Regions from separate parts of the Homo sapiens genome. Here regions 2, 3, 4 and 5 are each linked to region 1. The links are contacts of gene promoters, found by promoter capture Hi-C in blood cells and fetal thymus (Javierre and others, 2016). All regions are on one chromosome and are shown on one strand. Each heading gives the region's core, a stretch centred on a gene start or on the middle of the fragment in contact. The rest is flanking DNA. Distances are from core to core; before and after follow the strand shown. Region 1 holds the start of IGSF8 (immunoglobulin superfamily member 8). Region 2 has its middle 5.7 kb from the start of TRV-CAC1-1. Region 3 holds the start of APOA2 (apolipoprotein A2). Region 4 holds the start of PPOX (protoporphyrinogen oxidase). Region 5 has its middle 14 kb from the start of AIM2.

Region 1 (2,762 bases), core at 107-2,606:
GCTGCCCACTGGGGAAAACACACCAAGTGCTAGGCAACCCAGGCCCCACAGCGCCTTCCTCTCTGTACATCCTCCTGCCACCTGCCCAGGGACCAGGGAGAGGACTCATCCTAACCCTGCAGGGCCCAGGGACCTGCAGCAGGGGAAGGCTTTGCTTGGTGCCACTGTGGAGCTCTGGTCTAGAAACAGGCAGCTGGGGCTACCTTCAGCCTCTGCCTTGACGACAGCAGCTCTGAAGTCACCATCCCCACCCCCACGCTTCACTCTCATTTCAAGGGCTTCAGCCTCATCAACATCTGTACTGGCAGTTTCACTGTCTCCATGCCATACTCTTCCCCAGACCACCTCCTACAGGGAGCCCTCCAGTTCAGGCCAAAAACAATTCCACTGTCATTATCCCCATGCATCCATGCAAGATTGGCCCAGAACACCCCACCATGAACACCCACCACAGCAGGCACAAGGTGCTTGGAGATCCCAGGATCAGTCTCCATGGAACCTGGTTTCTCCTGAGGCAAGGAAGCTGGAACTAAGCGGTGTGAAAACTGATGGGTGGCTGCAGAGCCAAGTGCCATTTGGGAGACAGGAAGAAGGGCAAAGAGGGACCCAACCCAGGGTGGAGATGGGGGTGAGAGAGGGAACTGCCCCCAGTTGATGAAGTGCGTGGAGCGCAACTGGGAGAGACTTACTTCAAAGATCGTGGGCAGAACTGGCCTCTGGGCCTCCAGCCAACTCTGGGGCAATTATGAAGCTGGGCAGGCACTGCCCTCGTAGGGCGGGCACCCAAGGCCAGGCCTGGAGCTGAGTGTGGGGCAGAAAGGAGTCGCAGCATTTGGTGCAGCGACCCCAGTACGTGGGTATGCTAGCTGAGATGTGTGGCCTGCCCCGGGAGGCCGAGCAGTGCCTGGGGCAGCACCTTAGTGGGTCCTCTCTACGCCCCAGTCCCTGGCTTAGAGCTGGGGAGCCTGCACTCTTCCCAAGACTGGCTCGGCGGACAGCCACAAAGCGCAGCTGGACGCCGACCCCGGGGAGGCTGGAGGTACCCCTGACGGAGGAGGATGTGAGGAGCCCCGAAATGCTAGGGGGGTGCTGGATGGCAGGCACCTGCCCGGCAGGGCCGGGAACCGGAACGGGGGCCTGGCTTACCTAGCATTAGCAGCAGCAGCAGCGGCAGCGAAGGCGGCAGCAGCGTGGGCCTGAGGGCGCCCATCCTGCGCGGCCAGCTCTGGGGAGGCTCCGGGGGATGGCGCGGGTTCTGGGGGGCCGGAAGGGTGGGGGGCGCATGCCCAGGTTGAGGGCAGGAAGCGGGGCAGCGAGGCGTGGGTGCGCCGAGCGAGCTGAACTGGAGCTGCCGAATCCCCTCCCTCCGCCCCTCCCGCTGCTTTCCCTCCAGCCCTCGGCAGTTCTGAAACCATTCTCGCCCCGGCCCGCCCCGGCACCGCCCCTTCCACCGCCCCGTCTAGGCCCGCCCCGCCCCGGACCCAGCCTTGGCCCTGCCTGCCCCACCCCCGCCAGACTCCGGCCTTTGCTCCGCACCTGGCCCCGGCCCCGCCCCGCCCCTCGAAACTCACCTTTGAGTCGCATCGAGTCCCAGCCCCGCCCCGGCCCCGCCCCTCCCCGCCCCGCCCCGCCAAGACTCCAGCCCTGGATCCGCCCCGGGCCTCGGCCCAGCCCCAGTTCCGGCCCCTCCCCCGCCCCGCCCCACCAGGACTACAGTCGGACTCCAATCCTGGCTCCTCCCCGGGCCCCGGCCCCGCCCCAGTCCCAAGCCGCACCCCTTCCCCGTCCCCGCAGGGCTAACGTCAGCCTCCAATCCTGGCTCCGCCCTGGACCCCGGCCTCGCCCCGCCCCTGGCCCTGGCTCCGCCCGAGGCCCCCGCAGGAGTGAGCTAACTGCACCTCTGCGCATCGAAATTCCCACCCACCCTCGCACAGAGCGCATTCCACCCCGCACCTGCCAGCCTTTCCTGGAGAGTTGGGTGCAGGGTCCCTGGGATTGGCGAGGTGACTGTGACCACGCATTTAGAATTCAGTTATTTGCTCTGAGCCATAGTCCTCGCTGCAAACCCTGCTGAAGTAGGGGTTGGCGGAAGCCAGGAGTTCCTGAATGCGAAGGGTTTGAGCTGAAGGGCGCTTCCAGGATCCAGAAGGTCACTGGAGACCTGTTTTTCACCCCCTCAGAGGGCAAAACCAAAAGAAAAATGGATTAGGAGAGGGGGCCGTCCATGTGACGTCATTTCTGGGTTGGGTGATCCTAGCCCAGTTGTTTAACCTCCTTCAACTTCAGTTTTCTCCTCTGCAAATTGAATTGAGGTTGATCACATCACCCAAAGGGTTATTGTGATGATAGGTAATGTACATAAAGTGTTTGGCACAGGAAACTAACACAAAATGGGAGATAAGGATTATTTTGTTTTAGGTTTTGAATTATTATTTGAACTGCTTCCTAAGAGGCTTAGTTTAGACCTGGCATTTAGGTGAAGGAGTCTCTATGTTCAGTGACAGTGGGAAGAGATGAACATTGCTCTGTTCTAGGAAGAGTGGGGCTTGCCCTGGAGGTGGGAGAATGGAGGAGGCACCCTTCCCAGGTGCTCTGTCTCTTCCTGAACTGTAAAGATGGGAAGTGGGCAGGGGCAGGAAGGATGAGACCAGAATGGGGAGAAGAGATGGCCAGGTTTGCAAAGCCAAGGCTGTCAGAGTGGCTGTCAGTGGGAGGTGACCCCAGAGCCCATTTACCACCCTCTACCCTCCAACATCCTCCCT
Region 2 (2,762 bases), core at 164-2,663, 1.3 Mb after region 1:
GCTAATGGAATGGGTAAACTAGGAGTGCTAGAGTGGTTGGTCTGAGACAAGGGTGAGGGGAAGGAATCAACCACTTTGGGATCAGAACAGAGGAGAAAGCAGGGCCACCACGGGAACTGTAGTTATTCCTTTCTTGCTGCTCTTTGGCTGTAGTTTCCCTCTCCCATACCATCAAGAAGCCCCAGTGAAACCACATGTACCACATTTATATTTCTTGCTCTGAGATCCATTCCCTGCCCTAACTCTCCCTGTTGTACTTGCAGGGAAATGCATTTCCCCAGGATCCCATCATGCAAAGTGAAAGCCAAAATCCTTGCTGTGTTCCACAAGACCCTTCACCTCCTCCTAGCTTACTCTGATCTGGCTACACTGGTTTTTGCTGTTTCTGGGACACAACAGCTTGCTGCTGCCACAGAACCTTTGCACTTTGTAGCCCCTCAGCCTGGAAGCTTGTCCTCTAGATAGTCTACATGGCTAGTTCCCTCACTTCCTTTAGGTCTTAACACAAAAGTTACTTCTCAGGGGGCCTGCCTTGGCCACACTATCTAAAATTCCACATACAAAGACACCCAGATATTTCATCTTCTGTTTCCCTCTTTATTTCTCTTTAGCACTTGTCACATCTGACATACTAAATAAAAACTGTTTCCTCTGCCCACACACTTTTGACATCAAATGTGTGGGTTTTCCACACCAAGCAATTCTCCAGTTCTCAATGGTCACCAATTGTGTGTCCTCCCATCTAACTCAAGTCTGGCACTAATTACCTGGAATTAATGAAGTTCCCACAGGTTAAGGACTCAGGCTCACAAGACTGCTCCTAACTTCAGATGTCAATCACAAGTTCCAGATTCTCATCTGTACTTCTCACCAATTGGCTATCAACTGGGGCTTTCCCAACACCCTCCTCTTGTTTGATAATTTGCCATAATGGCTCACAAACTCAGGGAGACATTTACTTACATTTACCGGTTTATTATAAAGAATATGACAAGGCCGGGCGCAGTGGCTCATGCTTGTAATCCCAGCACTTTGGGAGGCTGAGGTGGGTGGATCACCTGAGAGGTCAGGAGTTCAAGACCAGCCTGGCCAACATGATGAAACTCCATCTCTACTAAAAATACAAAAATTGGCTGGGTGTAGTGGCAGGCGCTGTAATCCCAGCTACTGGGGAGGCTGAGAGAATCGCCTGAACTGAGGAGGTGGAGGTTGCAGTGAGCTGAAATCGTGCCACTGCACTCCAGCCTGGAAAACGAGTGAGACTCTGTCTGCAATAATAATAATAAAAAAATAAAGAATATGACAAAGTTTACAGATGGACAGCCAAATGGAAGATGCACCGAGGGCAAGTATGGGTGAGGGCTTGGAGCATCCATGCTCTATTTAGGCTTGCCATCTTCCCAGCACCACAGTGTGTTCACTAAGCCAGAAACTCTTGGAACCCTGTTGTTTAGGGTTTGAACATAGGTTCCATTACTTAGACAGAATTGATGAAATCATTGACCATTGGAGTCAATCTCCAGCCCCTTTCTCCTCCCCAGAGGTTGGCGATGGAGCTGAAAGTTCCAGCCCTCTGATCATCTGGTTGGTTTCTCTGGAAACTGGCCCCCATCTTCTAGGAATCACCTCATTAGTATAAACTCAGGTGTGCTTGGAAGGGGCTTACTATGGATAACAAAAGACACTCCTCTCACCCCTATTACTCAGGAAATTACAAGTGTTTTAGATCTGTGTTAGGAACTAAGGACAAAGACCAAATGTATACTTCTTCACAATATCACACAAACCATATATTTTATCTTATTATCTGCCTCACAAACTAGGATGTAAACTCTATGAAGACAGGGATTTGTTTTTTGTTTGAGACAGGGTGTCACTCTGTTGCCCAGGCTGGAGTGCAGTGGCACTGAAACGGCCTTGTTATCTGGAGTAACATCCGAGGTTCGTTGTCTCACAGCCACCAAGAATAAGGATGCAGACACACAAAGAGTGAGGTTGAGAGTGGAAGTTTAATAGACGAAAGAAAGAGAATAGCTCTCTGCTGCAGAAAGGGGTCCTGGAAAAATGGGTTGCCAGACCCGTGGTGAAATTCAGGGGGTTTTTAGATGAGCTGGTGGGAGGCAGAGTCTGATCTACATAGCATGCAAAAAACTGGTCTGACCAGGTGTGCTATTTGTATACTATGGGAATCTCTGGCCTCCTCCACCCCAATCTTTGATTATGCAGGCAGGTTCACTGCCTGAGCTGCACCATGTTGCCCATTTCTTTATTACTGTACATGTGGTAACAAAAAAAGGGAAGATGGAGCCTCCATGGTGGACATGCCTGGCCCCCAGTTACCCCTTTTCTATTGGCACAGCTGCCAGCATTCCCCCATGCAAGCTTCCAGCTTGCTTACCTATGTTTGCAGCTCAATTTTTCAGGCTGCTCTTTCTTAGAAATGATTTTGGGGGCTGCTTTTTTGTTAGCAAAGAAATTCTACTGAGGACTCTTCTGCCCTCACTATCTCCTAAATAATTTCTATCTCCTGTATCAGCACGATCATGGCTCACTGAAACTTCTGCCTCCAGGCTCAAGCAATCCTCCCAACTCAGCCTCCCAAGTAGCTAGGACCACAGGTATGAGCCACCACATCTGGATAATTTTTCTGTTTTTGGTAGAGCCTGGGTTTTGCCATGTTGCCCAGGCTAGTCTTGAACTCCTGGGCTCAAGTGATCAGACCGCCTGGGCTCAAGCCATCCTCTTGCCTCAGCCTCCCAAAG
Region 3 (2,762 bases), core at 1-2,500, 1.1 Mb after region 1:
GGGTTGGAAGACAATGGTCTGGACACTTCACTGGGTGGCAGGCTGTGTTCCAAGTTCCACGAAATAGCTCAAGAAGTTAACCAGTTCCGTTCCAGCCTTCTTGATCAGGGGTGTCAGCTGCTCCTTTGACTTTTCAAAGTAAGACCTGGATAGGTGAGGGGATTAGAGTTTAATCTGAGGGACCCTAGGCACTGGCAGGGGCCTTGGTGGTGGTGGGAGGTCAGAGCAGACTGACTCAGGTCCCCAAACTCTAGTGCCTGGTCCATCGCATGGCAAAGCCCCTAGGTAGGAATAGAGTCAAGACCTTTGCTAGGTAGAGGGACAGACTCTAGAGACTGAAATTCAAGGCCCAGTTCTTGCTGTTCCTCTCTATCTAAGAGACGTGTGGGATCTTTGGGTGATGAAATACTTTTTCTCTGCAATTTAAGCCTAATCTGCCCTAATCCCCACCCCTGGGTTCAGACTTCTGTGGGACCTCTCATCTTCCCTTCTTTCTCTCCACAGTTCCACAGCCCCTGAACCCCTTGCCCTGAGACTTACTTGGCCTCGGCCTGAAGCTCTGGGCTCTTGACCTTCTCCATCAGGTCCTTGCCATAGTCAGTCACGGTCTGGAAGTACTGAGAAACCAGGCTCTCCACACATGGCTCCTTTGCCTGTCTCCGAACCAAAGCTCCTGCCCACACACACACACACACACACACACACACACACACACACTCTTTTCAGCTGGGTCCACAGCAGTGAATCCTGGCCTCCTGCCATACCTCTGCCAGTACCCACCCCAGCTCTCTGCCCCCTCCCCAAAAAGGTATCCAGCCAGATCTTTGGATGGGCTTTCTGGGCTTTAGAGAGGGAATGATCTTCCTTTTGAGCCCTTTGGTTGCCAGACCTGGATATAAGAGCACAGGCAGATAGGTAGCTATAACCACCAGCACATTCTCCCTTTTGGCCCCCTCTCCATATCACACCCACCTTCAAGGCTGCAGATGGTGAGGAGTAGCACAGTTGCTGCGAGCAGCTTCATGTTGGTAACAGTGGGGAGGGCGGCCTAGGAAGAGGGTGGTGGGGGTTTGGGGGACACTGAAGCCAAATGGGCTTCAGCTCCTCCCCAGGGATCTCCCTACCTGCTGCCCATTCCAACCTGGCTCTCTCCCTCTCCACAACTGAAGCCCAGGCCTCTTTGGATGCTGCTCACACATCTTGCCTCCTTATCTTACCTAGCCAGCGTCTCTGTCCTTGGTGTCTGTGCCTGCCCTGGCTGGAGAGGAAGGGGCTATATACCTGTCTGTTTACCCACCCCCTGTCAGGTGACAGGGACTATGGATGGGCCCAGTGGGGCAGGGATTATGTGAGGATAAACAAGTTGGAGAAATGGGGGAGGAGAGGACAAGCACATGGAAGACTCATGGTGATGGGGTGAGAGGCAGGGGGTACAGCTCTTAGTGGAGGCTAAGGGGGTACACTTCAGGTATATTTGAGGTTCATTCTTTTGAGATCTGAGGTCCTTGGACTTGAGTGCAACAGGAAGCAGGATTCCAAGTTATTTCTCTGGAAAGCTCTGACATATCAACCCATGGAATACCATCAACCCATCATACCATGGAAAGCTCATGGTGTCTTTATTCCATTATGGGTAGATCTCATCTCTCAACCTTATCCCACTTTACTGCAACTTGGCAGAGAGATATTGGGGAGCAGAAGAAAGGAGAAAGGAATTGAAATCAGGGACAGGGTTGAGGGCTATGGGGGTTAGGGGAATGAGGGTCGGGTAAGAGGGCAAGTGTAAATGATCTTGTCCGTTTTTGAGTTAATGTGTAATGAGACGGGGAGAAAACAGGAGAGCCCAGAATGACCTGGATGCTGATCACTGAACATACCCTACCCCCAGTAAAACAAATTCAGAAAACAGCTTCCGCCCGTCCCCTCCCAATGGAGGGCTCTGGCAGGAAAAGAGGTGAATAAGAGGCTTCTACCAGGGTAAAGGTTGAAGGCACCTGGTCATTTGATCACCTTATCAGTTCTAGGCAGTGATTAGCCAATATTGAGTCAGCAGGGGCAATAGCCCTGGCCCTTGTCTCACTCCTGTTGGGGGTGGGGGAGGGGGAGAGGTACATTCCCAGGTTCAAAGCATTTGGGTGAAATCAGTTAAATAGATATCAGAAGCTTTTGTATCTTTCACCCTTTTGCCCCCCAAGCATACTCGCTGAGTATGTGGAACATTCCTGAGGGTGACAGTGGAGGCGCAAAGCTGATGAGGGAGGTAGTGACCAGAGACCAAGAAATCTTTGTTTTTTAACTTTTGTTTTAAATTCAGAAGTATATGTGCAGGTTTTTTTGTTTGTTTTCCTGAGACGGAGTTTTGCTCTTGTTGCTCAGGCTGGAGCGTAATGGCATGATCTCGGCTCACTGCAACCTCCACCTCCCGGGTTCAAGGATTCTCCTGCCTCAGCATCCCAAGTAGCTGGGATTACAGACATGCGCCACCACGCCCGGGTAATTTTGTACTTTTAGTAGAGACGGGGTTTCCCCATGTTGGTCAGGCTGGTCTTGAACTCCCGACCTCAGGTGATCTGCCCGCCTCGGCCTCCCAAAGTGCTAGGATTACAGGCATCAGCCACCGCCCCTGGCCTATATATGCAAGTTTGTTACACACGTAAACTTGTGTCATGGGGATTTGTTGTACAGATTATTTCATCACCCAGGTATTAAGCCTAATATCCATTAGTTATTTTTCCTGATCTTCTCCCTCCTCCCACCCTTCA
Region 4 (2,762 bases), core at 90-2,589, 1.1 Mb after region 1:
CCACTACACAGCCCTGTGCCGGTGCCAGACTGGTTGGCATGTCTACAATGACTCTCGGTGAGAATAGCCTCCTATTTACATCCTGCCCCATTCCCACTCAGCCCTGACACCCTCCCCTTCTATGAAGCTCCAGGAGAGCAGAGTGCCAGGTGAAAGGAGAGGTGGAGGTCTTGCCTGATCATTTCCTGGATGCTCTGAGGTTCGGTCTTGTAGGGAGAAGGGAGTAAACAGGAATGACCACAACCCTTTCCCGATCTCCTTTTTTCCTAGTGTCTCCCCTGTCAGTGAAAACCAGGTGGCATCCAGCGAGGGCTACGTGCTGTTCTACCAACTGATGCAGGAGCCACCCCGGTGCCTGTGACACCTCTAAGCTCTGGCACCTGTGAAGCCCTTTAAACACCCTTAAGCCCCAGGCTCCCCGTTTACCTCAGAGACGTCTATTTTTGTGTCTTTTTAATCGGGGAGGGGGGAGGGGGTGGTTGTAGCTCCATTATTTTTTTTATTAAAAAATACCCTTCCACCTGGAGGCTCCCTTGTCTCCCAGCCCCATGTACAAAGCTCACCAAGCCCCTGCCCATGTACAGCCCCCAGACCCTCTGCAATATCACTTTTTGTGAATAAATTTATTAAGAAAAAATGATGTGCTTATTTGTATTTTTGCTTAGGGGGTGATAGAGAACTGAGCCAAATTGGAGTCTTCTTGGGACCCAAGTTCCCTCTCTAACAGGTGGGGGCGCTCTCAGAGCCGAGGGGGAAGGTTTCGGGGATGGTGCTGGACCCGGACCTGTGTCCCCCAGCAGTGAAGGTTATGTACTGGGAGGAAAAGAGGAAAGGCATACTTGAGTGAGGCTGCGTGCAGGCTCTGGGGCGACTGGTTTGGTCGGCGATGGGGGAGTGCCACTGTTGACAAACACTGGGTACGTTGCCGGGCGGCCCTAGCTCCCGTAGGCCCGGTCTGTTGCTAACATCAAGGAGCTGTTTATGGAGCCGCCTCCCCGTGGACTGGCCTTAAGTGTCCCTATCTATTCTCCCTACGACCAAAGCTCCTGCGGCCTTCCCTCTAGGGTTGTCACCCTAGCTGGACCTGGTAAGCTTGTGCTGGGGAACGCTAACTCCAGCATTAAGCGCTCGCCGCCTCGGTCCTGAGGAGGGCAGTGACGGGTACGGCCGCTCACTCCCAGCTCGGCGCTAACACGGTTAACCTCCAGCTCTTACAGCTGCCGTCGCTCCGCCTCTGCCAGTTCAATGTTTTATTGGTGAACGTGATCCGGGGCCTTCCAAGTCCCGCCAATCCAGATGTAGGAGAGGTAGGGTTAGGCGCGTGCCGCGAGAACAGAGTGGACGGAGCGTAGGAGAGACCGAAAAGGCTGGGGGTGGGAGTAGCGGATTTGAAGCACTTGTTGGCCTACAGAGGTGTGGCAAGCAGAGCACCTCAGAACTCAGGCGTACTGCCCGCCGCCCGAGCCCTGCGAGGGCCGATAGCGAGGGTGTGGCCCTTATCTGCACCCAGCAGAGCGCCGGCGGGGTACGGTCTTAGGACCTCGATCTCCTTCTCCCTCATTTTCTCTCATCCCTACCTATTGTGGGTGAGTCCTGGCCCCTGGACGGGGACCTCGCTGTTCCACCAGCCCATCCGTGCACACTTAGTTTCCCCTAAAGCAGTGAGTGGCCGGGATAGAACTCAAAACCGGCGGGGCTTCTGGAGCGCAGGTTGTCCCCGGTCTGCCTGTCCATATCGCCCCCTTTCCCCCAGGTTTCCGCATGGGCCGGACCGTGGTCGTGCTGGGCGGAGGCATCAGCGGCTTGGCCGCCAGTTACCACCTGAGCCGGGCCCCCTGCCCCCCTAAGGTGAGTGCTCCACTTGTGCCAGAGGGAGCTTCATTTAATGCTCTTCCCATTTCCATCAAAAGCTAGATGGATCCTGGCCCTCTGAATATGCCTCTTCCCCTCCCCTCCTGACCTCTCGCCGGCGGCTACAGGCGGTGCTGCAGTGTCTCTCCCTCTTGTCGCCAGGTGGTCCTAGTGGAGAGCAGTGAGCGTCTGGGAGGCTGGATTCGCTCCGTTCGAGGCCCTAATGGTGCTATCTTTGAGCTTGGACCTCGGGGAATTAGGCCAGCGGGAGCCCTAGGGGCCCGGACCTTGCTCCTGGTGAGAGGCTTGTGGGATGTCTAGGAGAGGTTGTGGAGGGGGCTTCCATTGGGGAATAGAGTTTAGGGGAGGAAGTATGTTTGGTGGGTCAGATCTTCCCTTAGTTTCTCCTCTTCTGAGGGCATGTGGAGAGCAGGTTTCTGAGCTTGGCTTGGATTCAGAAGTGCTGCCTGTCCGGGGAGACCACCCAGCTGCCCAGAACAGGTTCCTCTACGTGGGCGGTGCCCTGCATGCCCTACCCACTGGCCTCAGGTAACACCAGCACCTCCGCTCCTTTTACTGTGCCCTCATCCTCATATGCCTTCCATTTCTTTCTTCTTTTCTTTTTTTTTTTTTTTTTTTTTTTTTTTGAGACGGAGTATCGCTCTCGCCCAGGATGGAGTGCAATGGCGCGATCTTGGCTCACTGCAACTTCCGCCTTTCGGGTTCAAGCGATTCTCCTGCCTCAGCCTCCCGAGTAGCTGGGACTACAGGTGCCTACCACCACGTCTGGCTAGTTTTTGTATTTTTAGTAGAGATGGGGTTTCACCATATTGGCCAGGCTGGTCTTGAACTCCTGACCTTGTGATCCGCCCGCCTCGGCCTGCCAAAGTGCTGGGATTACAGGCGTGAGC
Region 5 (2,762 bases), core at 178-2,677, 1.0 Mb before region 1:
GGACTGTCATTTGTATGAGATGGAAAAAGAGACCATTTCTGGCAAGTGAGACGAGCTGTGAGCTTCTGACCTAGGTGCTTATAAGCATTATTTCAATTTAATATTCCTAACAATCCTGCAAAGTGAGTACCGTCATTATTCTTATTTTATAGATGAGAAAATAGAGGCTTAGCGGTGTTTGTGAATGGACTAAGGTCATACAATTAGTGAATGGTAGAAATAAGATTTGAACTTCATCTGGTGTAGCCAAAGCACATCCTCCTAAGCACTAAAAAACACTGCCTCCTGGTGGCAAGATGAAGAAGTTCAACTCCATAACCAAAAGGATAAAAACCAAGGTAGATCAGGATAGAAGCACAGAAGGTAGACATAAAGCATGTCACTTGCTTAAAGAAGCCCCTGTGTTGGATTGTTTGTTCAACCCCCTTACCTACAGGCTCCCCTGCTTAGTTTCACTATCTGGTTCTCCCTTAAGAAGTTTCTTTCCTAGTTTCACTCCTTTACTCTCAGGATAGCTGAATGCAAAACCAAACAAACAAACACAGGATCACTCTGCTTAGTTCTTTAAATTATGTACCAGTCAAAACAAAAATGGCCACTCAAAACATGTACCCTGAGTCCCAGAATCACACAATCATAAGAATATACACATGGTTTCCTACGACGAAGTTATTCTTCTAAGCTTTCCATAAATCACTGCTCTTTCATCTCTGCCCTACCTATTCTATCGGTTTTTAGTTCAGTAACTATTTGTTTTCAGTAACTGGACCCTAGACCCTTCAACCAGACAACCAAAGTGCCTATTTTCCCAGCTGCTAGAAGTGTTACAGCTGACACCTGAGTCTGTGTTCCAGGACTGCCCTATGCTGAAGGGAACTGCCTTCCCCAAGGTTGCATCCTTCCATGGAGAAAGCCTGAAGCCAAGGATTTAGGGTCTATGAGGAGGTTCAAGGTCACAGCCTTCTTGCCTCACTTAGGCATAACTAGAGGCCATCCCAGCTCTAGGGTTCCCAGGGGGATTGGCTGCAGCCCTCACTGCAATTTAACTTCTCCCTCCGCCCAACCCAGTTTCCCTCTCTCCTTTATAGGTGTTCCCAAGAGCACCCTCTAATAAACTTCTTGCAGGCAAATCTAACAGTCTGTTTCTTGGGGACCCAACATAAGACAACATTCAACTCTTAACTTCAGTCATATTCACAAATACTGTCACTTTAAATAAAGTGCAGGAATGCAGTGTAAAGATACATACACCAGAAAAAGATGTGACTATAAAGTGCAAAAATATACCAGAATGTAAAAATAATACATGAATTTAAAGTCCATGAATCAGTCTCTCTCGCATACTGCTAGAAAGCGTGTGACTGCTTCACATTTCATAATTTTGTCATTGTAATTGTCATCACGCCACTAAAATTCCATGCCTTTCAATTTTTGTTTTTGTTTCTATCTCTAAATAAAAATGTTTATTTAAATGCCTTCTATGGACACTTCAGACCAAGTCCAAAACTTTACCTTAAGGTGAAAACTCTTACTATTTTTCCTACAAGGTTGTGTTTGGGAGGTTATTCATTTGTCTTTTATTTTTTACCATGAGCTGTTTGTCTAGTCTCCTGACATGGTAACTGGAGACACAGATCCCTCTGTCAGAGTCAGCATCAAACATGTGTAAGGCATGTTTTGACTCTAGCAAACCATCAGGGAAATAATTTTTGATCGTTCTTTGAGTTAAAATTGTCTTTTACATTGATGCTAAAGACTTTCCCTAAGCAACCTCTACCACATTAGCATAAAGTGTCTGAGTTTCAAAGATTCCACCTCAAATGGCTCCCTTGTGTTCAGCACCATCACTCCCTCCTGGTATTCTTCTTCCTGAGTAACTTCCTATTGACCTCCTTTCCCTTTCAGTCTCTTGCTGAAATGGAAACATCAGAATGAAGGGGCAGGCTGTATGTGGGAAAGATGAATCACCATTAAATGAGAAACCTCAATCCTAATGCTAGTCTTGTAGAAATTGGCTTGTATGGTCCTGAGAATGGTAAAAATAATTAATACAAATAACTTTAAACATTACTTAATAAAGTAACAAATAATACAGCTAGAAAAGAGAATGATAGGATAAAGGTTACATTTTTTATATTTAGCCATTCTTGGTCTTATAAGTGTAGAAGACAGAAAAGCTTGTGTCCAATCCTATTAATACCTTAAAGCCATGTGTGGCATTACAACCACTGAAAAAATGCTGGGTAGAGTCAGTCCACAATGACATGCTTGTCACGACGTGCTTTGGCAGGTTCTGCCTTTCCCTTTACTTATTCTAGGCTGGGTCCCTTTTGACTACTGTCAGCAGTGAAGAGGAGGAGAAACTCCTCTGATTTCTGAAGATTCACAAGTTACAAGACTATCTTATATGCTTGAGGATGGCCAGCATGTAACTGGTGACAATGAACAAAATTATATACTTACAAAGTGCAATCGTTACATTATCCTGATCATCTCTTGTGTTGACAGCAATCTGTAGGATGGGATGAATCAAGGCAGCCAGCTGAAGTCCTGCCCTCTGGATGCCCTTGGGGGAAGGTATTTGGAGAGTAACTTAGGGGGTGATGTATAAAGGATGTGGTAACAAATGTTATGAGTGTGTGTGTGTTCACTGACACACCAGCAATTGCCAAAGCAAAAATGGTGGCTTCGTCCCTCTCTATTGAAAAGGGCCTGCTTAGAATGTGGATGCTTAAACTGCTGTCACCTATAAAAATATTCTA

Evidence for each region. Contacts are between HindIII fragments. The CHiCAGO score rates a contact against its expected background, and 5 or more counts as called.
Region 2: a fragment that was not itself captured here is called in contact with the fragment with the promoter of IGSF8 in region 1 in 3 of 17 cell types (non-activated CD4 T cells, fetal thymus and total CD4 T cells); the score reaches 6.1 in non-activated CD4 T cells.
Region 3: the fragment with the promoter of APOA2 here is called in contact with the fragment with the promoter of IGSF8 in region 1 in 5 of 17 cell types (total B cells, naive B cells, non-activated CD4 T cells and 2 more); the score reaches 6.7 in total B cells.
Region 4: the fragment with the promoter of PPOX here is called in contact with the fragment with the promoter of IGSF8 in region 1 in 1 of 17 cell types (fetal thymus); the score reaches 6.1 in fetal thymus.
Region 5: a fragment that was not itself captured here is called in contact with the fragment with the promoter of IGSF8 in region 1 in 1 of 17 cell types (neutrophils); the score reaches 6.1 in neutrophils.

What each region holds. Positions count from the first base shown.
Region 1 is chr1:160,097,263-160,100,024 of GRCh38, forward strand. IGSF8 (immunoglobulin superfamily member 8) reads right to left here and starts at 1,357. Exons shown (of 7, transcript NM_052868.6): 1 at 1,147-1,357. The coding sequence starts at 1,210. RefSeq lists enhancers at 1-18, 19-545 and a silencer at 1,112-1,941. The HindIII fragment of the contact is 5,064 bases long and covers 1-2,762 here.
Region 2 is chr1:161,392,705-161,395,466 of GRCh38, forward strand. No RefSeq gene overlaps it. Among named protein-coding and RNA genes, the nearest start is that of TRV-CAC1-1, 5.7 kb to the right of the region's middle. The HindIII fragment of the contact is 1,933 bases long and covers 448-2,380 here.
Region 3 is chr1:161,222,378-161,225,139 of GRCh38, forward strand. APOA2 (apolipoprotein A2) reads right to left here and starts at 1,251. Exons shown (of 4, transcript NM_001643.2): 1 at 1,218-1,251; 2 at 973-1,048; 3 at 541-673; 4 at 1-145. The coding sequence starts at 1,024. The coding sequence ends at 28. The HindIII fragment of the contact is 2,953 bases long and covers 1-2,161 here.
Region 4 is chr1:161,165,087-161,167,848 of GRCh38, forward strand. It overlaps PPOX (protoporphyrinogen oxidase), which reads left to right and starts at 1,340. Exons shown (of 13, transcript NM_001122764.3): 1 at 1,340-1,586; 2 at 1,754-1,848; 3 at 2,014-2,148; 4 at 2,285-2,400. The coding sequence starts at 1,762. It overlaps USP21 (ubiquitin specific peptidase 21), which reads left to right. Exons shown (of 14, transcript NM_001014443.3): 13 at 1-57; 14 at 271-637. The coding sequence ends at 361. RefSeq lists an enhancer at 2,395-2,762. The HindIII fragment of the contact is 28,112 bases long and covers 1,091-2,762 here.
Region 5 is chr1:159,089,106-159,091,867 of GRCh38, forward strand. It overlaps a transcript of AIM2 not described here. Among named protein-coding and RNA genes, the nearest start is that of AIM2, 14 kb to the left of the region's middle. The HindIII fragment of the contact is 1,495 bases long and covers 681-2,175 here.